Linked DNA regions of Homo sapiens: region 2 is linked to region 1. Evidence: promoter capture Hi-C in human tissues and cell types (Jung and others, 2019). All regions are on one chromosome and are shown on one strand. Each heading gives the region's core, a stretch centred on a gene start or on the middle of the fragment in contact. The rest is flanking DNA. Distances are from core to core; before and after follow the strand shown.

Region 1 (5,748 bases), core at 1,474-3,973:
ACCCTGAACATCTACTTCTTTTTTTTTTTTTTTTGAGACGGAGTCTCGCTCTATTGCCCCAGCTGGAGTGTAGTGGGGCGATCTCGGCTCATCGCAAGCTCCGCCTCCCGGGTTCACACCATTCTCCTGCCTCAGCCTCCTGAGTAGCTGGGACTACAGGCGCCCGCTACCACGCCCGGCTAATTTTTTGTATTTTTAGTAGAGACGGGTTTTCACCGTGTTAGCCAGGATGGTCTCCATCTCCTGACCTCGTGATCCACCCGCCTTTTGCCAAGGCGCTGGGATTACAGGCATGAGCCACCGCGCCCGGCCTACTTCTTAAAGTGATTGTACTCAATAAATAGTGTGGAGACCGCAACTCCGGGCCTTTTGCAGCCTCCATTTTCCAACTGGTCCCCTGGCTCCCACCTTTATGAGCTCTTAACCTGTCTCTTCTCATTCCGGGTAAGTGTCGAGGCTGGTCCCCAACAATGGGGTTTCTCCATGTTAGTCAGGCTGGTGTCGAACTCCTGACCTCAGGTGATGGGCCCGCCTTGGCCTCCCAAAGTGCTGGGATTACAGGCAGGAGCCACTGCGCCCAGCCCCCTAGACCCAAGTCTCTAAATATCATCTCTATGTCCTGGTAACTCACTGTGCCTGAAGATGCCTCCCATGTAGACTCCTACACTCCGTTACCTTTCTTGACATCTCCTTTGCTTCTCTAAGCAGCTTCTCAAGCCTCACAACTTCCCATGCCTAGCTGCTCCAGCCCATCTTCTCTATCTTAGCAAATGGCCCCAATCAACAGCGTTCAGACCTAAAGGCTTGAGTCATTCTTGATGCCTCTTTCCTGTGTAAACCAAAAAGTGTCTGAGACAGGTCTCAATTGCTTTAGGAATTTAGCTAATGTTAAGGACATACCTAGAAGAACACGAAATTACAGAAAGAGTCTGTGGTCTGTGCCTTTCTCCAGAGATGACTGTCAGGGCTTCAATATTTAAAAGAGAAAAGTAGGTTGAAGGAGAAAGATCTACATGTTCCAAGAGAAAAGGAGCAGGTAGGGGAATAGTCAATTATGTATTCCTAGTGTGCTCAGTAAGTCGCCACTTAAAGTGAACAGAGTTCACCCGTGGAGATATTTAATCTTGTATCTGTAGGTATCTGCTTAGAAAAAAAAAAAGAAACACAAAGGTGGCCGGGCGCGGTGGCTCACACCTGTAATCCCAGCACTTTGGGTGGCCAAGGTGGGTGGATCACTTGAGGTCAGGAGTTCGACACCAGTCTGGTCAACATGGTGAAACCCTGTCTCTACTACAAATACAAAAAGTTAGCCGGGCGCGGTGGCATGCGCCTGTAATCCTAGCTGCTGGGGAGGCTGAGGCAGGAGAATCACTTGAACCCGGGAGGGGGAGGCTGCAGTGAGCCAAGATCGCGTCACCGCACTCCAGCCTGTGAGACAGAGTGAGACCCTGTCTTTAAAAAAAAAAAAAAAAAAAAAAAAGTAACGCAAAGGTAGTTTCTTGCATGATTCCGCGCTCAGCATAATTTTTTCCTTTTGGCACAGTGAAGTTGGGTCCGATTTTTTTTTTTCCTTTCACGCCTCCCATCCCCAACCCATCAGCAAGTCTCACAGGTCCTGCCTTCAGAAGCCTATCCCGAACCACGCATTTCCCTCCACCTTCACTGCTCCATCTCGGCCAAGTCACCACGCCTTTCAGGGAACTCAGGAGCAACAAGCCCCCAGTGCGGGACGAGCCACCCCAAAGCCCCTCGAGAAGTTTTCTCTAACCACAGCCCCGAAAAGCCCCGCCACTACGACCACTGGCACCCCTGCTTATTTCCTCCAGACCCTCCTCGGCCGTCCCACCCCATCAAGCCCTCCTTTCGCTCGCATCTCCACCCTCCCTGCACACTGCCTAACCCAGAAAATGGCCAAGCAGGTAAGCCCTGTCAACTCACTTCTCCTCGGGACTCGGGTGTCCCTGACTTCCACGTGTTCACGAGAAGCTCGTCAGAGACCCTGACCTCTCCCGGGAGCACAACACAGACTCGAACTGGCTAACTCGGGCTGACGCCGGTTCAGCTGACTCCCATCCTGGCAAGAGGCTTCCGGAGTGTTCCAGCGCCTCCCAGGCCTGCTGCGGCCGCCCCAGTCCACGGGCCGCGCGGAGACCAAGATAAAAGGACGCAGGGTGCCGACCTGACCGATCCCGGCACCGCGAGAGCGCGACGAGGTCCCTGGAGCCCGCGGCCTCGTCAAGGGCCCCACCGCGCCCCGACCCCCGGGTCCCGCGCCCACCTCTCGGGTCTGCGCTCGGCGCCGCGGTGCTCTGCCTCCTCGGCGTCTTCGGGCCTCCAGCGCCTGCCGTCGGCTCTGCGCTTCCGTCCCAGGCTCCATCGCGCGGGGGACGGCGGGCTGCGGGGAGGGACGCGGTCGGCTGGGCACGGGAGGTTCGGGACCGCCTTACAACCTCCGCCCTCCCACACCCCGGCCCCGCACAACCCCCGCCCCACGGGGCACGCGCTCCCTCGCCCGCCGCGCAGCCCGGCCTCACCTGGCGTCACCGTCGCAGCGGCTCTGATGCCTCGGCGGGCTTCGCGGGCGGCAGGCCATGGCAGCACGGGCCGGGCGCGCAGCGCAGGGCCGAGGCTGAGGCGGCGGCGGCGCGGGCAGAGAGCGCAGAGTAGAGCAGGGCAGGGCCTGAGGCAGAAACCCGCGTCCCCGCGCCGGCGCTCACGAGCTCTGCGCGCCCCGCCCCCAACCGCCTTTATGTGGGCGCCGGGCCCCGCCCCTCGGCCTCCCGCGCGCGCCGGGTCGGGCGAGACCATCGGGCCACGCCGCAGGGGTCCACTCAGCTGTGCGCGCCTCGCGAGCCGACTGGGGCTAGGGCGAGGCCTCGGGACCGCGGGCAGCCGCGAAGCCCGACTGCCCGGCCCTCGGCTCGGGAGCCAGATGGACGCCGTGGGCTGAGGAGAGGCCTGAGGAAAAGGTTGCCCCCACCCGCGGGATTGAGGCGGCCGGGCCGCCGCGGGCCTCTGCGACGCTGATAGGTCGCGCCTTGGCGGGCGGGGGCAGCTTTGGCGGGAGATTCGGCCGCGCGCGACGCGGCGCAGGTCGTGGGGGAAGGGTAAGCGGCACGTTTCTCGGCCTGGGTCGTGGCGCATCTCCCATTGGTTCCGGCCTGGGTGGAGCGCGGCTCTGCTTGGTTCCTGCCCAGGTGGGGGCGTGTCTCCTCCCTGGCGGGAACCCGGAACCCGGAACCCGGAAGGCGCGGCCTGTGGCGGGTACTGACTGCTTCCCACGGTCCCGTGGCCGCTGCAGGCCCCGTACGCGCCGTCTATTGTTTTGAGCCGCTTAAAGTTTTGGAGTAACCTTTTAGGTCGCAACAGTTGACAACTACACTGAGTCTTTCCGGTCCCACTGCCCTGGCCGTTGACCGCACACCGGCCACCGACTGAGCCGCTAGTTTCGGTTGCCGCTGCCTCCCTGCCCGTCCATGACGTCCTCCACTGTGTCGCCGGTGCATGACGCTCCCACCCTCTGCCTGGAGTTGACTGGGTTTGTATCCTGAAGAATCCCTGGCTCAGCAGGTAGGTTCCACCTGGAGGCGAGGTCCTGTAGATCCGCACCATCCCGTCCCGCTTCCCCGCCGTCACAGTTGCAGCTGACGGCCCCGCGGATCCAGCCAACTAGAACCCCAACGGGTGCACTACACCTGAGAACAGGTTCCCACAGCTTCCTGTTGGGGACAACGTGAGGGATGCAGGGGAGAGTGGAACCAGCCAAAAGAGTGGGCAGTGGGGTCAGGTCCAGGAGGCTGAGCCCCAGGGATGCTTGGGATCCCTCTAAGGCCTTACACCTCTGGGAGGGCCGGACTTTTGCACCTGCTGCCCTCAGGACTGTGCCTTGGTGCGTCCACCGCCCCCTTTTGAACTCAAAAAAGTCATCCTCAGACTAGGACGGACACATCCTGTCCCCTTCCTCCCCAGGCCCTGGGCATCCCATAACCCTCAACACTGTAAACTAAAAATAAAATCCTGGCAGGGCGCGGTGGCTCATGCCTGTAATTCCAACACTTTGGGAGGCCGAGGCGGGAGGATCATCTGAGGTTGGGAGTTCGAGACTAGCCTGACCAACATGGAGAAACCCTGTCTCTACTAAAAATACAAAATTAGCCTGGCATGGTGACGCATGCTTGTAATCCCAGCTACTCGGGTGGCTGAGGCAGGAGAATTGTTTGAACCCGGGAGGCAGTGGGCTAAGATTGCACCACTGTACTCCAACCTGGGCAACAAGAGCAGAACTCTGTCTCAAAAAAAATTAAAATCCTAAGCCCCCAACAACTGAATGGACCCCCTTGCGGTCAAGGGGACACCAGTGGCAATAAGATACCAAATTATGAATAGGACCTAAGGTCATGCCAGGCAAGGGTTAAGTCACACACCCTACATTTAAACTATATTCCTACTGCCACACTGCTTTTCTTTTCCTCTTAGTAGCTCAATAAGCACTGGCCTTGAGCTAAGCAATATTGGAACAGTGCAGTGGCCGAGATGATGGCTCATGCCTGTGATCCCAACACTTTGGGAGGCTGAAGCCTCCAAAAGGATTGCTTCAGGTCCAGAGTTTAAGACCAGCCTGGGTAACAGCGAGACCCTATCTTTACAAAAAACTTAAACAAAAAGGCTAGGCACTGTGGCTCACACCTGTAATCCCAGCATTTTGGGAGGCTGAGGTGGGAGGATCGCTTGAGCTCAGGAATTCGAGACCAGCCTGGGCAACATAGCAAGACTTCATCTTTACTAAAAATCAAAAAAATTAGCCGGCCATGGTGGTGTGTGCCTGTGATCCCAGCTACTCGGAAGCTGAAGTGGGAGGATTCCTTGAACCTGGGAGGTCAAGGCTACAGTGAGCCCAGATGGCGCCACTGCACTCCAGCCTGGGCGACAGAGTAAGACCCTGTCTCAAAACAATAAAAACCAATTTGCAGTTCCACCGGATGCTGACTGATCCCCCAGCCCCTATTCCACCAGCCATAACTACAGTTTCATTGGACAAGAGACTGATTTCAGTAACTTGGTCCAGATAAGAGACCACAGTGATGGACCACTTCTGGCCTGTGTAGAACCTCATTATAATACATTTTAAATGTTAAGTCTCCACCCCAAAGTGAATGTGGATTGTATGTTTGTTCAGGATGCATGCGTCAGGACTGCCTTCATGAATATTCATAGCTCCTCCTGTCACCTGCTGAATATGCATGTTTAGCCAACCCATTCAGCATAAACCTCCTGCCCCAACCCCTCCTCCTCCTCCTCTGAAGTGCCCATCTCTGGTCTTGGCCAGAGGCTGTGCTTTCCAGTCTGAGGGATGGCCATCTTGCAGGCTGTTAACTATTTTTATTTTGAGACAGTCTCACTCTGTCGCCCAGGCTGGAGTGTAGTGACGCGATCTCGGCTCACTGCAATCTCTGCTATCCAGGTTCAAGCGATTCTCGTCAGGCTGTAACTTTTTAGAAGAAATAAACTCTTCTCTAAGTTAACAGTACAGAGCCAAAGAGTCCCAAGTACCTGTGAGTCACAGGGCCTGGCACAGTCAGGGCCCATAACAGCCCCTCAGTAGATGCTCACTGGATCTCTGTTGTTGGTTAAAGCAGCGCCTGGCTGTGTATGCAAAAGAATGCCAGTGAAAGTACCAGGCTGGAAAGAATCTGAAGACACTCGTAGCGCAGGAAACTAGAGCCCACTGTCATATCTTTCAATAGGATT
Region 2 (5,748 bases), core at 3,249-5,748, 550 kb before region 1:
ATCCATAAGAAGCACTCCTCATCAGTTCAGGTTTCAGCCTGAGATTGCAATAATTTGGTCCCATCTGCAGGCTCCACTTCTAATTCTATTTCTCTTGCTGTTTCCACCACATCTGTAGAGACTTCCTGCACTGAAGTCTTCAACTCCTCAAAGTCATCCTTGAGGGTTAAGATCAGCTTCTCCCAAACTCCTGTTCATGTTGATATTTGTATGTCCTCCCATGAATCATCAGTGTTTTGAATGGCATCTGGAATAGTGAATCCTTTCCAGAAGGTTTTCAATTTACTCGTCCAGATTCATGAGAGGAATCCCTATCTGTGGCAGCTATAGCTTTACAAGATGTATTTCTCAAATAGTAAGACTTGATAATTGAAATTTCTCCTTGATCCATGGGCTGCAGAATGGATGTTGTGTTAGCAGGCATGAAAACAACAGTAATCTCCTTATACATTTTCATCAGAGCTCTTGGGTGACCAGCTGCATTGTCAATATTGTCAATGCATAGTAATACTTTGAAATAATCTTTTTTTTTTTTCTGAGCAGTAGGTCTCAAAAGTAGGCTTAAAATATTCAGTTAGCCATGCTGTAAACAGATGGCTGTCATCCAGGCCATGTTGTTCCATGTATAGAGCATAAGTGGAGGAGGTTTAGCATAATTATTAAGGGCCCTAAGATTTTCAGAATGGTCAATGAGGATTGGAGTCAACTTTAAGTCACCAGCTGCATTACCCCTAATGAGAGAGTTAGCTTGTCGTTTGAAGCTTTGAAGCCAGACACTGGCTTCTCTCTAGCTATGAAAGTTCTAGATGGCATCTTCTTCCAATAGAAGACTGTTTTGTCTACATTTGAAATCCACTGTTTAGTGTAGCCGTCTTCATCAATGATCTCAGCTACATCTTCTGGGTGACTTGCTGCAGCTTCTACATCAGCACTTGCTGCTTCACCTTGTTCTGTTTTTTTTTTCCCTTAAACCTCATGAACCAACCTCTGCTAGTTTCAAACTTTTCTTCTGCAGCTCCCTTACCTCTCTTAGCCTTCATAGAACTGAAGAGAAAGCCTTGCTCTGGATTAGGCTTTAGCTTAAGGGAAGGTTGTGTCCGGTTTGATCTTCTATCTAGACCACTCAAACTTTCTCCATATCAGCAATAAGGCTGTTTCACTTTATCATTTGTGTGTTTACTGGAGTGGCACTCTTAATTTCCTTCAAGAACTTTTCTTGGCTGGGCACAGTGGCTCATGTCTATAATCCCAACACTTTGAGACTGAGGCAGGAGGATTGCTTGAGGCCAGGAGTTTGAGACCAGCCTGAGCAACATAGCAAAACCTTGTCTCGACAAAAAAATACATAAAAAAAAAATTAGCTGGGCACATGCCTGTAGTCCTAGCTAGTTTGGAGGCTAAGGCAGGAGGATCCCTTGAGCCCAAGAGTTCAAGGTTACAGCGAGCTATGATCATGCCACTGCACTCCAGCCTAGGTGACAGAGCAAAACCCTGTCTCAAAAAATAACAATACTTTTTTCTTTGTATTCACAACTTGGCTGACTGTTTGGCACAAGAGGCCTAGCTTTCAGCCTATCTCAGCTTTATGTTAATCATTTCTAGCCTTTGATTGCAAGAGAGAGATGATGGCTCCTCCTTTCACTTGAACACTTAGAGGCCACTGCAGGGTTACTTGTTGGCCTAATTTCATATTAGTATATCTCAGGAAATAGGGAGACTTGAGGAGAGAGAGAGAAATGAGGCAATGGACAGTCATTGGAGCAGTCAGACCACACACAACATTTATCTACTACATTTGCCATCTTACGTGGGTATAGTTGGTGACGTCCTAAAACAATTTCAGCAGTAACAACAAAGATCACTGAACACAGATCGTTATAACAGATATAATAATGATAAAATACACTGAAATATTGTGGCAGTTACCAAAAAGTGACACAGAGACATGAAGTGAGCACATGCTGTTGGAAAATGGCGCTGACAGACTTGCTCAATTCAAGGTTGCCTCAAACCTTCCATTTGTAAAAAGCACAGTATCTGCAAAGCACAGTGAAGCAAAGTGCAGTAAAGTGGGGGTGTCCACAAGAATTTCCAAAGAGCCACACCAACATTTGCTGCTATCAAAAAGACTACGAAATGCCATCTAAGATTTCTTTGCCATTCTCTTTCGTCTTTTCCCGGGGACATACGCACAAAAACACCATTTAAAGTTATTGAAGTAATTATTTTCATATAAAGTATATTTCATTTGTGTCAGTTTGTTTTCAATATTTGCAGTTTAGTCATTTTGCCTCTTTAAAGTTCACTATTTTTATTTTTGATTATGTAAAATATTTACATGGCTCAAAAATAAAATTATATGCAAGAAAAGAAAGAACAGATGAGACAAAATAAAAATGAAATTGGTAGATTTAAATCTGATGATATCAATTAAGTCCATTCGATGTAAATGACATAAAGGCAGAGATTATCAGACCAGTAAAGAAGCAAGACTCAAATAAGTAATGTCTACAAGAAACTGGCTTTTAAAAAGATATTCCATGCAAACTCTAATCCAAGAAGTAGGAGTGCCAATATTAATATCAGGCAAGATAGATTTTTAAATAAAAGGAGATTACTGGAGATAAAGGAGCATTTCATAATGATAAATGGGAACTATCTTAAATATATATGTACCTAATAATAAAGCTTCCAAATTTTATGAAACAAAAATTGCCAGAATTGAAGGAGAAAGAGATACATCTATAATTATAGTTGGAGATGTCAACAATCCTCTATTAGTAATATAACAAATAAAGGGAAGTCAGTAGGATTAGTGAAGACCTGAACGATGCCATCAACCAATGTGACCCAACTTGAGCAAACTAACATTAGTGAAACACCACACTCAGGCATGACAGGATGCACAGGGAATATTTGCCAAGATAGGTCTTACTTGGGGCTATAAAATAGTATCAATAAATTTACAAGGATTGAAATCATACAATATGTTCCTGACCATAACTTAATTGAATTAGAAATCAGTAATAAAACTTATATGAGAAACTGCAAATATTTAGATATTAAACACAGTTTTAAATAAACCATGTATCAGAGAAGATGTCACAGGGAAGATAGGAAGTATTTTAATTGAATTGCAATGAAAATATATTTCTTTTGTGGTATGCGGCTAAAGCAATTTATAAAGGGAAATTTATGCCTTTAAATACCTGTATTGAGTTTGAGACCAGCCTGGGCAACATAGTAAGATCATATCTCTATTTTAAAAATTTAAAAATTAGCCAGGCATGATGACATGTGCCTGTAGTCCCAGTTACTTGGGAGGCTGAGATAGGAGAATTGCTTGAACCCAGGAGGCGGAGGTTGCAGTGAGCTGAGATCACGCCACCGCACTCCAACCTGGGTGACAGAGTGAGACTCTGTCTCAAAAAAAAAAAAAAAAAATGCTTGTATTAGAAAAGAAGAAAAGTTTAAAATCCATGACCTAAACTTCTACCTTAATAAACTACAAAAAGAAAAGCAAATTAAACCTAAAGTAAGAAGGAAGGAAACATTAAAGATTGATGGAAGAAAAAGTAAAAGTAAAGTGTGGAAATCATTGAAACAAAATGAACAAACACTAGAGAAAGCTAATGAAACTAAAACTCGTTCTTTGAAAGATCAATAAAATTGGTAAGTCTGATCAGGGGAGAAGGAGAAAAACCACAAGTTACCAATATCAGAATGAAAGGGGATATCGTTATAAATTCTACAGATAATAAGAGGGTAATAAAGAAATTTTATGGGCCAGTGTGGTAGCTCATGTCTGTAATCCCAGCATTTCGGGAGACTAAGGAAGATGGATATGACTTGAGGAGTTTAAGACCAGCCTGGACATCATAGTGAGACCTTGTTGCTACAAAACAATAAAAATCAGCTGGGTGTGGTGGGGGGGTACCTGTAGTCCCAGCTACTCAGGAGGCTAAGGTGGGAGGATGGCTTGAACCTAGAAGGCTGAGACTGCAGTAAGCAGTGACTGTGTCACTGCACTCCAGCCTGACGACAGAGGGATACCCTGTCTAAAAGAATTTTGTGAATGAGTTGTGCCAATACATTTGACAATTTAGATGAAATTGACAAATTCTTCAAAAGCACAAATTACAAAAACTTTCACAAGAAAAAATATTTTTAATAGCCTAATCAATCTAATAAAGAATCGAATAAATAAATTTTATTTGTAATTAAAAACTCCTCCCACAAAGAAAATTCTAGGCCCAATGGCCTCACTGGTGAATTCTGTGAAATATTCTATAAAACGTTTATGAAAAAGTTAATATCCATTTTTCACAAAGTCAGAGAAGAGAGCACTTGGATTCATTTTATGAGGTCAGCATTATCCTATACCAAAATTATACTATGACATTATAGAATCTAGTAATAAATGTATTTGGAACTGACAATTCCCTGTGCTTTTAAACATTCTGTGGTTAAAAATTTGCCCAGTTATTTGAATTTGGGTGTTTGTTTTTTGGGGGTTTTTGTTTTTTTGAGAAGGAGTCTGTATCGCCCAGGGTGGAGTGCAATGGTGCAATCTCGGCTCACTGCAACCTCTGCTTCCTGGGTTCAAGCAATTCTCCTGCCTCAGCCTCCTGAGTAGCTGGGATTACAGGCATCTGCCACCACTCCCGGCTAATTTTGTATTTTTAGTACAGATGGGGTTTCACCATGTTGGCCAGGCTGGTCTCAAACTCCTGACCTCAAGTGATCCACCCATCTCAGCCTCCCAAAGTGCTGGGATTACAGGTGTGAGCCACCGTGGCCGGCCAGTTATTTGAATTTGTGAACCTGAACTTCCAGCTTAGGATTTGTTTTCCTCGGCCCTGCTGATCAGCTCTCACTTTACCGCTGCTTTTCAGCTTCTCTAATTTTGCTGTTATTTTTTTCTCCATCTTTGGGGAATTTATACTTTTGTTATTGGAGAGATTTAAAATAATTTGTATTACCATTCCTCAAATCTCAGACCATCCTTTTGGGATAATTTTCCTCCACCCTGAACAACATCCTTTAGAAGTTTTTCAGGGTAATTATCTTGGTATTAAGATTCTTCAGTTTCTGTTAATCTGAAAATGTCTGCATTTTGCTCTCATTCTTAAAAGGTGTTGCTGAGTTCCCAGCTGTGGGTTGACAGTTAATTTCTCTCAACATTTCAAAAGTTATTATCTGACTGCCTTCTGACTCCCTTTGGGCTGTTAGGAAGTAGCTGTCATTCAATAGATGTTCCTTCATAAGCAATCTGTACATTCCTCTGGGTCCTTTGAAGGTTTTTTCTTGTTTTTTTTTTTTGTTTTTTGTTTTTTTTTTTTTGAGATGGAGTCTCACTGTCTCCCAGGCTGGAGTGCAATGGCGCAATCTTGGCTCACTGCAAGCTCTGCCTCTGGGGTTCATGCCATTCTCCTGCCTCAGCCTCCCAAGTAGCTGGGACTACAGGTGCCCGCCACCGCGCCCAGCTAATTTTTTTTGTATTTTTAGTAGAGACAGGGTTTCGTCGTGTTAGCCAGGATGGTCTCGATCTCCTGACCTCGTGATCCGCCTGCCTCGGCCTCCCAAAGTGCTGGGATTACAGGCGTGAGCCACCGCGCCCAGCCTGAAGGTTCGTTCTTTGTGTTTAGTGTTCACCAGTTTCAATATACTGTGTGTGGGCGTGGACTGCTTTCACTTCTCCTCTTTGGAATACATTATGCTTTCTGTTTCTGGAGACAGCTTCTAATT

The links. The method cuts DNA at HindIII sites, captures the fragments that hold promoters and counts their contacts. A contact is called where the count stands out against the background at its distance.
Region 2: a fragment that was not itself captured here is called in contact with the fragment with the promoter of SLBP in region 1 in 1 of the 25 tissues and cell types used here (dorsolateral prefrontal cortex).

Annotation. Positions count from the first base shown.
Region 1 is chr4:1,709,596-1,715,343 of GRCh38, forward strand. SLBP (stem-loop histone mRNA binding protein) reads right to left here and starts at 2,724. Exons shown (of 8, transcript NM_006527.4): 1 at 2,535-2,724; 2 at 2,279-2,395. The coding sequence starts at 2,593. RefSeq lists silencers at 2,101-2,220, 2,231-3,140 and enhancers at 3,271-3,560, 5,540-5,649. The HindIII fragment of the contact is 8,102 bases long and covers 1-3,952 here.
Region 2 is chr4:1,157,679-1,163,426 of GRCh38, forward strand. All of the region lies in intron 1 of LOC124900647 (nascent polypeptide-associated complex subunit alpha, muscle-specific form-like), which reads left to right. Among named protein-coding and RNA genes, the nearest start is that of SPON2, 12 kb to the right of the region's middle. RefSeq lists an enhancer at 5,745-5,748. The HindIII fragment of the contact is 5,549 bases long and covers 1,725-5,748 here.